Linked DNA regions of Homo sapiens: region 2 is linked to region 1. The links are contacts of gene promoters, found by promoter capture Hi-C in blood cells and fetal thymus (Javierre and others, 2016). All regions are on one chromosome and are shown on one strand. Each heading gives the region's core, a stretch centred on a gene start or on the middle of the fragment in contact. The rest is flanking DNA. Distances are from core to core; before and after follow the strand shown. Region 1 holds the start of RESP18 (regulated endocrine specific protein 18). Region 2 overlaps TTLL4 (tubulin tyrosine ligase like 4).

What was found. Contacts are between HindIII fragments. The CHiCAGO score rates a contact against its expected background, and 5 or more counts as called.
Region 2: a fragment that was not itself captured here is called in contact with the fragment with the promoter of RESP18 in region 1 in 1 of 17 cell types (total B cells); the score reaches 5.5 in total B cells.

What each region holds. Positions count from the first base shown.
Region 1 is chr2:219,329,396-219,336,164 of GRCh38, forward strand. RESP18 (regulated endocrine specific protein 18) reads right to left here and starts at 3,349. Exons shown (of 6, transcript NM_001441699.1): 1 at 3,129-3,349; 2 at 1,376-1,480; 3 at 242-369. The coding sequence starts at 3,234. RefSeq lists an enhancer at 5,328-6,527. The HindIII fragment of the contact is 5,862 bases long and covers 1-4,223 here.
Region 2 is chr2:218,717,545-218,724,498 of GRCh38, forward strand. The region is part of intron 1 of TTLL4 (tubulin tyrosine ligase like 4); the gene reads left to right. Among named protein-coding and RNA genes, the nearest start is that of TTLL4, 10 kb to the left of the region's middle. RefSeq lists a silencer at 2,022-2,319. The HindIII fragment of the contact is 161 bases long and covers 1,746-1,906 here.

The DNA of each region.
Region 1 (6,769 bases), core at 2,099-4,598:
CTCCTCTTGCTAGAAGAGACAGGGAATGACAAATTGGACCTAGGCTTGCCACACCCACCTCCCCTCCCTTTGCAGATATCACTAATGGATCATGAAATTCTTCTCTGCTGATTCCAAACAGGACCTCTGAATTCTCACAGTGCTCCTGGCAACTTCTACCTGCAGTTTTAGCACACATTCCTTCCCTGTTCCGTCTGTCTGCCAGAATGCTTGGAATGACCACAGGCCTCATGCACCTCACCTCAGTGGTTTTAGTGGGGAAAAGTGCCTTCCCATCCTTCAGGCATGGTTCTTGGGGATGCAGTCTGCTGGCATGCTCCATCTTTTGGATCATTGCATCCTGGGTGATGTCATCCTTCCAGAACAGACCTGCAGGATGAAAGGATGGGGGGTGAGTTGACACCTGAGACACTCGGATCCACTCCAGGGATCAGAGTAACCTTTCTCTCAAGTATATATTAGATTACATTTTACAGAGAATTAAACAAGATGATGTATTAAAGTTGCTTAGCATAGTGCCTAGCATATAATATTCAAATTAGGATTATGATTACAGTCTCTTTGCTGGTTCATTTGATGCTATTGTGAGGATTAAATGAGGTTAGGAATATAAAGAGTGCTTAGAAAATGCTAAGGCAGTGATTATCAAACTTTAGCATGTGCATCAGAATCTCCTGCAAGGTCTGTTAAAATACAGACTGCTGTTTCCCACCCCTAGGGCTTCTGATGCAGTAGGTCTGTGGTGAAGTTCAAAAATTCCCATTTCTAACAAGTTCCCTGGCGAGGTTGATGCTGCCAGTCCAGGGGTGCACTTTGAGAACTACTGCTCTAAGGCACTATGCACATATTAGTGTTAGCAGCAGTAATATGAACTCAAGGAAGATTTCCTAGCTGACTGTCTCCTCCCCAACATTCATGAAACTCTGCTGTGAGACAGGGTCAGCCACATGTTGCCAATGGACTCTCCACTCCCTTTCATTCCTCCCATCTGTTTGTCATACAATTTCCTACTCAGAGGCTGAAGTGTGTGTTTTCCTGTCTGAGAACTTGAAGAGTCCTGGCTTTGGAAAAGCTCATATAGTGCTGGGGTTGGGGGGAGACTAGTCTCAAGGAGTTGGATGCTGGCCGTTTTCAGTTTTGTTTTTTTTTTTCCCTAGAAGCCTTTACTGGGCTCTTCCAAGGTGTTCTAGTGCAAATAGTCCACCCATCCAGATCCCACTCCTACTCCTGTCTCATCCCCATGGGGGTAAATGTGACAAAGTTTTAAGTAGAGACATTTGGGGAACAGAAAGCCTACCCTCAGGTCGGATAGCCCCTCTTCCCCCCTCCCCATCTCTAACCAGGCCCCAACCTCTGTTCTCCAGCTTTTACTTACCTTGGGGTATAATCTGCTGGAGCACAACCTGTAAATGCTGGAAGACTGGGGTGGCAAATCCTTGGAGGGGCCAAAGCTGCCCCACTCCTACTTGGTCCTGACCATCTAAGGGCAAAATAGTGGTGTCAGCAAGGAACCTGGCCAGAGCCTTCCACATCCCAGTTGAAGAGAAGCAGCTTCCTTGTACTGTCACTCCTGGACCCCTGACCTCTGTTCCCACTACCAGGCCGCTTTGTCCACTTCAAGTCTTCTTTAATTTTTCCCTTCCTCCATCACCACTTGCCATATTCTTCAACCCCTGGGCCTCATTCACTCTTGGTACCAACTTACAGATAACCAGATTTACAAAGAGCAGCCTGTAGAAGTTCAGATGCGCAGAGGCTCAGAAAGCTGAGCACATGGGAATAGTAATCAGGTGGGTAGGTGGGGCATGGGGAAACAGGTGAGCTTCATCTTAGGGAAGTCATTGAAGCCTGGAAGTGTTAGGGAGGAGGCCTGGAATCATTAGAAAAGGTATTGGTTTGTTTAGGGTTTGAGGCTCTGGATCCTTTTCCTGAAGCCCACAGTTTGCCCAACTGTGCATGAGAGGAAGGACAGGGGTTGGGGAAGAGAACCCCTAATGCTATGCACACCTTCCTTCTTCCAGATCAGTGAGATAGGGCTGGAGGACAGTCTGTTTTTTGCTATAGTGTAGTTACCATGAGCCATTCTGGACAGGTCTTTAGAAAAGGGAATTCTCCTACCCAGTCAAATGGATGTCTAATAATTTCCTGGGGGTAAGCGTGACAAAGTTTTAAGTAGAGACATTTGGGGATGAGAAAGCCTCCTTAAGGAAGTAGTGGAACCTCCAACACCCTGAGGAGAAGGGAAAGAGCTTCGGGAAGGGGAGCTGATTCTCTGAGGCAGCGTTCCCAGGACTGGTGGGAAGGAGTGGTGACCCGCTCGGGCTCGGCGTGGACCCGGAGCGCGCCTGGCGCTGTCCGTGGTGCTGAGAGGTGGGGAGGCCAGCGTGGCGGCGGCGCTGGGCGGAATGTGGGCGAGACATCTCCGCAAGGCTTGGCGGTCCTTCCCCACGGCCCTCATCCTCTCATTGCCACCAGGCCTCCTCCCACAGCTGTTCCTGAATCCGCTGCATTGGCCTCTAAAACCAAAAATCAGGGAGAGGGGGCGACAGACTAGGAGTTTGCGCTCTCTTCCCCATGCGCTCTGCGCAGGAGTTCTCGAGTGTGCGCAGTCTGGCACGTGAGTCAGCGCGGGGTCTACGCGGATTGGTGCGGGGGAAGGGGAGAAGGATGGTCCCATTCCCCCTCCATCCTGCTTTCCCTCAGCGGTCCCCTTATTGGAAACCGGATCACAGCACGAGGAAGCCCTGGCTCGTCTCCTGGCCCAGCCTTCTCCCTGGAGCCAAGACCCCGATACCCGCAGCCCTGGTCAACTCTTTTTCTGGCCTTTCTTGCTTCTCCTGTGGCCACATAGGCCAGTTTTACCTCTCTCTGTTCATTTGTCTTTCTGACCTCTTCCCAAATCCCCAATTTTCACCTGAACCCACTTCTCGTGAGTCCAGACCCCATATGCCCAGCCTATCTGAAGCCTATGCCTCTTTCCGCTAGACGCTGTCTACCTTTTTCTCTTCTCACGTCCTTAAGCACATTCTTTTACTTCCAAGTTTCCTAGCCTTGAGGCCCCCTGCAGACCCCCACTTCTCAGGATCGCTTTCTTGGCCCTGCCCGCACCCCCCAGGGTTCCTCCTGACCGTGGGCACTAGTGTCGCTGCAGCCCCCCGGGCAGCTGTTCAGCAGCAGGAAGCAGACAAGCAGCTGGAGCCCCTCGGAGCTCCCAGGCCACAGTGGGTGCTGTATCCTCCCAGGCTCGGCGCGCTCACTCCCCGGCCAAGTCTCAGTGAAGGTAGCGGCCACGGCCGAGGGGCTGAGCGGGGCTGCAGCTTCCCACCAGCCCGCGACTCCGAATCTGTTTAACCCTCCTCGGCAGTTCAGCCAATCGTGAGCGGGCCCTGCCCCTGCGGTCGCCTCCCCAGCTCCTTCCCCTACCGCCTCCCCACCCTCATCTCTTGGAATTCCTGACCCGGCTCCTTTCGGGCATTAGCTGGGTCCCAAGAACCACCGCCTGTACTCCCAGTCCTAAGGCTGCAGAAACGGATGGCACGTAAGATACGGGTGCAAGTTGTACCTACTCAGGTTTGTTGTGAGAATCAAATATGAACAGCGATGAAACAGTAGGCACTCAAGGAATTTAGTTTATTTTATTATCCTTGACACTCTTTACTCTGGCCCACTTAAAACCCTTTAGAAATCATATAGGTTCGATCTGCTATATATATATATATAATATTATATATTATATATTATATATGGCACATCCATCCACTTTACTCCACATCCACTGCCATCGCCTTGGTCCAAACCACTGCACACTGTACTTTTTTTTTTTTTTTTTTTTGAGACAGTCTTGCAATTTCAGATCACCACAACCTCCGCTCGACCTCTACTCAACCTCAGGCTCCAGAGTAGCTGGGACTACAGGTGCACACTACCATGCCCAGCCAATTTTATTTATTTATTTATTTATTTTTGTAGAGACAGGGTTTTGCCATGTTTCCCAGGCTGATCTCAAACTCCTAGGCTCAAGCAATCCTCCCACCTTGGCCCCCCAAAGTGTTGGCATTACTGGCATGAGCCACCATGCCAGGCCTTGGACACTGTACTCTTTTAAATTGAGTTGTTGTAGTAACTAACTAGCTAACTGACCTCTTGCTTTCACTCTTGTGTACTTACAAGCTAGTTTGTGAGCTTTCTAACTCTTAGACTGGCATTTAAATTTTTTTTCATTAAGCTTAAAACATTTATTAAACTGGGCATGGTGGCTCATGCTTGTAATCTCAGCACTTTGGGAGGTCGAGATAGTGGATTACTTAAACCTAAGGGTTTGTATAGTGAACATTTGGGGTTGATACATTACAAAGGATCTGAATTATATTATTATCTTTAAAGGGTAATAGTTTGAGTTTGTTCTGGCAGGCAATTAAATTTTTGGTAAAAAGTCTTGATCCTGTGGCAGTCTGGTTAGGGAAGGAGTACTTCATCCTATTCTCAATTCTAGCCTGTATCTCTTAGTCCTGGGATATGGTGCTTATGGCTAAGGTGTGGTCCTTTTTGGATTTCAACATAACCCAAAGTCATTTACCAAAACTCTCTATTTTACGGGTCCTGAACTCCAAACTCAGTCACCCTAACACTGTGACAGCTGCCAAAATCTCTGTTCAGATATTTGACTTTTTCACTAGGTTCCTTGAAATCTCACCCTGCGCAAGTGCCATTTAGAAGATAGCTAAGAATTGGAGGGGAGTTAGGATGCAGATTTTGAGTTCCTCTCTCTGTAATTTATTCATTTTCTAAATTTCTTCCTCAATTTCCAGATGCTCTGGCATCTCTGTACTCCAAAAGCTGTTTCCTTAGTAAGACTGCCAGTTGCTGACAGAGCTGTTTCCCTGTGTACTGCAGTGAACTCTGAAGTATCTTCAGAGGAAAAGCCTATACATGTATAAGTCACTTGGTGGACTTCCTTTTTTTGAGGACTATACTCCCTGTAGGTTTCTAACTCTTGATCAGTCTCCATGCTTTCATACAGTTATTTTTATATTTTGCCTAGAGTATATACCCAATGTTAGGAGGATCCGACACAAGTTTCTGTCTTGTCACGCCAAAAACTAGAGGTTTATCTGGTTGTCACTGATTATGTACTGGACATGCTATTTTAAAATAAATTTATAGCAATAATTTGAGGCCTAAGAGCAAATGAACGTGAACCTGCTTTGTGAAGTATAATGCTCCTGGAAAAAGGGAAATATTGGTCTTTGGGTCGGCTGAACAAAGGTGAGTGTGCTCCTCTCTGTATTTTAAGATTTTAAACCACCAGGAGAATGGCTATCAAAATGATAAATGTACAGGAGCATTGATGCTGCTCTTCTTTTTACTGTTCATTGGAAGGGATTCTAATGCTAAGAGTAATACCCTCAGAAGACTTAGCAGGTTTTCAGGCCTATTGAACCAGGGGTTCGTAGGAAGGAACTTTCTTTCCCAAGAAGAAAGAAAGACTACCATAAAGTGTAGCTGGGGAGAGTGGGCGAAGGAAGATTGTAATTCAGCTGTGGTCCTACTCTGTCTTACATTCATGTTACAAATGATGTCCGGAAGGAGAAGGAGATCAGAAGCCTAGGCTCCATGTGTACCAAGGAGTTTTACTATTTCAATCCCCACCCCAAATGTCCTCTCTGTTCTGGCTTTACATATTTTAATTCAGAAGCTCTGGCTGAGGCCCACTGTCTTACTTGCAGACAAGCCTGCTTAAAGAATTTTCATGAAAACTCACTTTAAAAAATCCAGTAGCAAGTTGTCCTAAAACTGCCTCTCTGCAGGGTAATGGGGCTGGGAGAGGAGGAAGGCCTCAATCTGTGACAAAGTTTTGCTCAGAGAAGGAAACAGTTCAAAGAAGCTCTAAAATGGGAGGAAAATCGGATTTGGAATTTGTGTGTATATGTGCCAGGGGCTCCCCCTCCACAGTGTAAGCTCCCCTCACCCCACTATATAAGGGCCTCTAGTTGCAGTCTTGACTTGGGCAAGTCTTGAGGAATAGTGACTCAGCAACCACCTGACAGCTAGCCTCCCCTTGGCTCCGACGTCATGATCTTCTCTCTCTCCCTGATTTTCCCTTAGGTACAGAGCTAGTCAAGGACGCTGAGCCTGCAGAAGAAAGGCAGATTCTTGTTTGCATAATTGGTAGCACCATGACAACCAGTTCTTATTGTGAGGATCAGTCATTTAGTGCTGATGATGCCACTCCAGCGACCAATCCAGGTAGGAGAAGTGTAGCTGCCATGGTGACAGGAATCAAGAAGCAGTTTCCTTGGAAGCATAAGGATCTAGAGCCCCCTGAGGTTCAGGCTGCCTGTTGGGGCAGTGCAGGGCCAGATAGAGGTGCTAGGCTCCTGTGATTGCCTCGCCCAGGCCACCACAGTCTTTCTTGGACCAAGACAACACTTCCTAACTGATCTATTGATTCCACTCTTTCCCCTATCAATATATTCTCAAGTAGCCTTTTAAAATTATATATCACATAATTCTATTCCCTTCCTTAAAATCCCCAGTGATTTTTCCTCTGTACTTTGCATAAGATCTGGACGCTCTACTGTTGCCTACAGAGCTCTGTCTAGGCAATTTTGGACTTATTTCTCCAATCCCATCTCCTATCACTGGTTGTTCTGTTTGTTTTTCTAAAGTGCCATTTGAGAAATGAAAAAATATAATAACTAAAATAAAAACTCACTGGATGAGCTCCAAGCGGGATAGAAATGACAGAAGAGTCAGTCAACTTGAAGAT
Region 2 (6,954 bases), core at 576-3,075, 610 kb before region 1:
CTTACTTGTTTGGCATTGCTAAACTGTGCTCTACAAGAGCTACCTGTAATTTCACTAATCTTGACTTATACGGACCCACCCTTCTCACTAGGCTGTATTCTTGACCTTCCTCTCTTAGTAGGGCTTTAGGAGAGATATATTGCTCCTCCACCTTTCCTTAGGGAGAGAGAGCTTGGGATTTATCTCATAAGAGAAAATTAATGTGATTCCTACACTCCTCTCTATTTGGTTCCAGGCAAGTCAGTTCTATCTTCTTCTTTTTTTTTTTTTTGGAGACAGAGTCTTGCTCTGTCACCCAGGCTGGAGTGCAGTGGCACAGTCTCGGCTCACTGCAAGCTCCGCCTCCCGGGTTCAGGCCATTCTCCTGCCTCAGCCTCCCAAGTAGCTGGGACTGCAGGCGTCTGCCACCACGCCTTTTGTATTTTTAGTAGAGATGGGGTTTCACCGTGTTAACCAGGATGGTTTTGATCTCCTGACCTCGTGATCCACCTGCCTCAGCCTCCCAAAGTGTTGGGATTACAGGCGTGAGCCTGTCAGTTCTATCTTCTAACATAACTGTTGAGCAGTTGAGGTAATCTCATCAGAGATCTTGTGGACTGTAGACTGAACCATTTCTGATGTCCTGAGTTTCCCTGGTGACCGAGGGAAACACCTAGTTGAAGGAGGAAAGGGAAACTGCATTTCCCAAGAGCCACACTCTCTTGTAGGAGAGTGATTTAATTAGTGGGTAATGAATAATTGCTTTCTCTAGAAATAGATACCTTGTCCAAGTTGGTCTGGGCCTGGTCCCTGGAGACTTGTTGGTTTGCGACAGCAGCAATAGATTTTCTTTTCTTTTTTTTTTTTCTTTTGAGACGCAGTTTCACTCTTGTTGCCCAGGCTGGAGTGCAATGGCGCAATCTCGGCTCACCGCAACCTCTGCCTCCCAGGTTCAAGCGATTCTCCTGCCTCCACCTCCCAAGTAGCTGGGATTACAGGCATGCACCACCATGCCTGGCTAGTTTTGTATTTTTAGTAGAAATGGGGTTTCTCCATGTTGCTCAGGCTGGTTTCGAACTCTCGACCTCAGGTGATCTGCCCACCTCGGCCTCCCAAAGTACTGGGATTTCAGGCATGAACCACTGCGCCCGGCCAGCAATAGATTTTCTAACATAGGCTACTAATCATTCACACTCCTTTAAGGAGGAAACTTGAGGCAAAATCACCCCATAAAGATTGGAGGACAGAACTGTATAGGCAGTTTCCAAATGCTGCATGAAGATGACAAAGTAGGATGTTCAGATTCCTGAGAATGGGTGTTTTAAAGGGGAGAGTCTGGAGCCAGGGACATCAGTCAGGCTGCTTACCTTAACAGTCCTGCACTTGGTGTTAGAGGGGTTGGAGACTGGGCTGAGGCAGCCATGCAAATAGAAGGGGATGTTTCAGGCCATTTTGTTGATCCATACAACTTTCTGCAGTTTTTTATTCTTCACTCTTACCCCTTTATTCAAGTTTTATTTTTATTTTTAACAGTTTTGTGGAGGTATAATTCACATTGAACATATCCATCGTTTCTAAGTCAATTTTTTAAAAACTTTTGTTCTAGGAAGACTTAGTGTTCCATAAAGTTGTTGGGGGAGGAGACTTGGGCAATATTGCTAATAGGAGGCCAAACTGGACCAGGGTTCTTCCCACCCCCTTCTGCCAGCGTGGCTCTGTATTTGAGGTTAAAGATCCCCAGAGATTTCCTATAAAAGCCATCATGAAGCTTATAGGGCATATCACTAGGGTAAGTGAACAGTGGTGTGAGATAGCCTTGGGAAAGTATCACGTGAGAGGGACACACAACAGGTGCTCGTGGAGAGGGTGGGTCTTGAGCTGGGTCTGGAAAAGGTAAATAAAATATGGTAAGGATTCACAAGGAAGAAGCTTAGTGGAGTAAAGCCCTGCAGACAGGCATTTGAAAGGTTTATTCCAGGAATTTAGTGTAAGACCAGCGCAGTTCACATAACAGAGTTCAAGGTAGGAGGAAATGGAAATAAGCCTTAAAAAAAAAAAAAAAAAGATTAAGGGTCGACTATGGAGTCTTGTGGACCAAAGCTAAGAAATCTCACATGACAGTCATCTGGAATGCTTGTTAAAACTGCAGACTCATGGCCCTACTCCACACCAACTGAATCCTCTTGAAGGTGAATCTCAGGACTTTGCATCTCAGGTTATTCTGATGCAGGTGGGCCACCACAGTGTTTAGTAAGTGCTCATGGACCGTTTTTGAAAAGGGATTGACCTGATGAAGCAATACAGCAAAATTAATCTGGAGGTTGCCTGCAGGGTGGAATTAGGAAGGGCACACCTTGGAGACACATGCTTCAGTCAGTGCTGTTGCAGTAAGTCCAGATCTAGGGGCATGGTGGAAATAATAAAAGGAGGAAGAATGCTAAGTAGACAGAGTGTCTTAAATTTCATGACTGGTTTCCCTTTGGGGAAATAAAGTAAAGGAAAAAGTCAGAAATAACTTAGTTTTCCTCTTAGGTGATTTGGAGAAAGAAGGGTCCACTCAAGGAAATGGGACGATCAGGAGTGGAGAGCTAGTTTGACACACTAGATTGAAGTGGTTGGACATGCATTTGGAAAGGTGGAACAGGCAGTTGGTGATGCAGACATGAAACTTGAGACGACAAATCTGCAAAATGACTCTTCTGCAGATAATAGTTGACATTGTGAGAGAGATTGATTTGATGTGGGGGAGGATGAAAGAACTGGAGGATTTTGGATTGGCCTCAGGAGGAGGAAAGACACTATTGAAGGGGTTGGGTACAGCTGTGGCAGAGTGCACGCACTGAGTAAAAAATAGCAACAAGGAGATGGTGGTAAGAGGGGAACGCCTTTTTCATATGAATAGGTCCAACTCGTGGCTTTGCTGATGTGATATTGTGATATAATAAGAAATACTCCAGCCTGGTCAGCATGGTGAAACCCTGTCTCTACAAAAATACAAAAATTATCCGGGCACGATGGCGGGTGCCTGTAATCCCGGCTATTCGGGAGGCTGAGGCGGGAGAATTGCATGAACGCGGGAGGCAGAGGTTGCAGCGAGCCGAGATCGTACCATTGCACTCCAGCCTGGGCAACACAGTGAGACTCCGGTCTCAAAAAAAAAAAAAAAAAGAAAGAAATACATAATTGGGGTGTGCCCCTGGTTCCTGGCTCCTAAAACCTTCAGAACTTGTAAGTGATAAGTGTCTTTTTATATGCTAATGAGATGATTGATAGCTGGGGACTCCTGAATAGCCTCAAGATGGGAGGCTGATTGCCGAGAGAACCAACCATGTGATTAGAGGGTTGGAACTTTCAGTTCCATCCCCCACCTTCTGGGAAGGGGAGTGGAGCCAAAGATTGAGCTGACTACCAATGGCCAGTGATTTATTCAGTCATGCCTATTAATGAAACCTGCATAAAAACCCAAAAGGACAGGGTTTGGATTGTTGAGCACATGAATGTACCTGGCACTCCCGGTAACAGCACGGAAGCTCCAAGCCCTTTTCCCCATCCCTTGCCCTATGCATCATGTATCTCTTCCATGTGGCTGTTCATCTGTATCCTTTGTAATAAATAGGTAAATGTAAGTGAAGTGTTTCCCTGAGTTCTGTGAGTTGTTCTAACAAATTGATCAAACCCCATGGGGGGGTTTTGGGAACCTCAATTTACCCCCAATTAATTAATTAATTAATTAATTAAGAGGTGGGGTTCTGCCATGTGGCCCAGGCTAATTTTGAACTCCTGGGCTCAAGCGATTCGCCCCACCCAAGGTGTTGGGATTACAGGTGTGCGTCACCGCGCCTGGCCAGGGAACACCAATTTATAGCAAATCAATCAGAAGCACAGGTCACAACCTGTGCCTTGCAATTGGAATCTGAAGTGGAAGCAGCCTTGTGGTACTGAGCCCTTAACCTGTGAGATCTGATGCTATCTTTAGGTAAATAGTGTCAGAATTGAATTATAGGATATCCAGCTGGTGGCCTCTGGAGCATTCCTTGGTGTGTGTGCCTCACACATTTTGATGACCAGAGGTGAAATATTCTGTACTGTGTTAAGAGTGACTATGTAAGGGAGTGAAAAAAGTTTTTTCCCCCTTAGCTGGTCATAGCTGTTGTAGATGCATTTGTTTATTCAGCAAATATTTAATGAGCCCTGATTACCATTCTAGGGCTGGATACATAAGCTCTGTGAAAAAGTCCCTGTGCTCAAAGCTTTCATTCTGGAAGATAGACAGATAGCAAAGAAATGCATAAATAATTGAGGTTTTTATTTTAAAATAGCCAGGCCCAGTGGCTCATACCTGTAATCTCAGCACTTTTGAGAGGCTGAGGCAAGAGGATCACTTGAGGGCAGGAATTCGAGACCAACTGGGGCAACATAGTGAGACTCTGTCTCTATTTAAAAAAAAAAATTAAAAAACTCAGAAGTTAAAATTAGGGCCAGGTGTAGGGGTTCATGTCTGCAGTCCCAGCACTTTGGGAAGCTGAGGTGGGAGAATCGCTTGAGCCCAGGAGTTTGAGACTAGCCCTGGCAAGATAGCAAGACCTTATCTCTACAAAAAATAAAAAAGTTAGCTGGGTGCGGTGGAACACACCAGTAGTTCCAGCTCCTTGGGAGGGTGAGATAGGAGGACCATGAGCCCAGGAGGTCAAACCTTGGTGACCAAGTGACCTGGTCTCAAACAAACAAAAAGAAATTAAAATTGTAGGAAAAGGTATACACAGATAAGTCATCTTTGTCTGTTTCCAACCTCATTGGTAGTTTTTAAAAAAATTACCAGCTTCTTTGTTCATCTTTTTTTTTTTTGAGCCAAGTGTAAGGAAATATAAATATATAATAATTTTAGATAGTGGAGGAATGAAATGGAGGGAATAAAACAAGGTAATGAAATAGGGAATGATTGGGGTAGGACAATATTAGATAGGATTGACAAGGAAGGCCTTTTTAGTTGAATACTGAGTGAAAGAACTAAGCCAGCCATTCAAAGATCTGAGTGTTTCAGAGGAAACCACAAAGATCCAGAGGTGGGAACGTTCCTCATGAGAGGAAGAGTGGCTCTGGATAAGGTCAGAGAGTCAGGAATCAGATCACATAGTCCTGGAAGCCATCAGATGATCTTAAGCTGTGTTTTAAAAAGAGTACTGTGTTTTGAAAAAGTAGCCACTGTCTGGAAAATAGATGATATAGAAGCCAGTAAATCAGCAGTTGAGAGATGATGGTAGCTTGACTAAGGTAATGACAGTGGAAATGGGGAAGAATAGCCAGATTCAAAGACATATATTTGAAGCTGGAAGGACTTGTTGATGGATTAAGTGGAATTGAAGATCTGCTGAGGTCAGGGTGAAAGCATCATTATGACAGGCATGTCGGGAGTTTCTGTGTTGTATGGAGGCCTGTCCAGGGACTAAGCTCCTTCTGCCTGAATATTTTTTATTGAAGTCTTCTTTGTGCAATTACAGCTTATTTCTTGGCCCTGACTCTGAAAGATTAATTGGACAAGAGGGGAATGTGATTGATCTGTTCTTCTCTCACTTTCCCCTAGCATGACTTGGTTAGAATCTGACATTCCCACCTTACTTTCAAGGAGATTAACAGATAACATGTTCTTTTCTTTTGAATAACAGTGGTTATAGAACCCTTGAGCTTGCCACAGTGCCCTCCTTGTTTCTTTGACTCTAGCCCTAAAATCCTTATCTCAGCCTCTAGGTTCCTGTTTCTCAGCTGGGTGCTGACAGCAACTGTTTTCTCAGTTGAGGGCACAACAAGGACTTGTGTTTTATTGGGATGTGAGGTTTTACACAGAATCACATTTAAATAGCATTTTCCCTCTAAGTATTGGAGACCTCCTACCAGCTTGTATGTTGATGGGTCCTAGAGAAAGTGCTTCCATTAAACTTTATCTGCCAGGCTTGAGTAATATGCCTTCCCTTGAACTCCCCTTGAGCCAGAGTTTACAAATTCACTGGCCATTGAGAGAGGTTGATTAATGGGTGCAAATACACATTCAAGATGATGCATTTTTGTTTGGAAATTGCAGAAGTGATGATATATCCTTAAGTGCATCATATCATGAAGCACATAATATCATCATTAGTAATAGTACAAATTGACATGGGCCTCATCATAAGATGCAACTAAGGATATATCATCACTTCAGACAAGGCCAAATTGAGTTTCATTCTTTAGAATAACTGGTCTGTATTCTTCAGAAGTGTCAAGCTCATTAAAGAAAAATAAAGGCTGAGGAACTATTACAGATTAAAGGAGACTAAAAAGATATGAAGGTGAATACAACTTGTGATCCTGGGCCAGATAAAGGACATTGATGGGACAGTTGGCAATATTTGGATAAGATCTGTGTATTAGATAATAGTAATATAGTTTATAGTATTATCAATGCTAATTTTTTGAATATAAGAGAATATCCTGGTTTTAGCAAACATTTAGGAAGTTTTTAGGAAGTATTCAGATGCAAAGGGGTATCATGTCTGCAACTTATGCTCAAACATTTCAAAAACCAGTTCACACAGAGATATATGTGAGAGAGAATATGAATGAATAATAAAACAAGTGTGGTAAAGTATTAACATTTGATGAATCTGGGGAAAGAGTAAACAGGAATTCTTTGTACTATTTTTGTAACTTTTTGCAAGTCTGAGATAATTGCAAAATTAAAAAAAAATTTTTTTAAACCTCATTACTACTTAAAGGGAAGTTTGGTTTTCCTCAGACCAGAAGGCAGGTAGCACACCAATCAACTTCAACTTTTCTTTGAAATTATACTGGTAGAAATAGATTTTAACAGTGAATGACTCAAGCAAATGGACTTACTTCTTGCTCCATTACCTGAAACAGGCCTACCCTTCCCCCTACTCTTCCTGGCCTCTGTTAACCACCAATCTGTTCTCTATATTCTGAAATCCACTTTTTTAAACT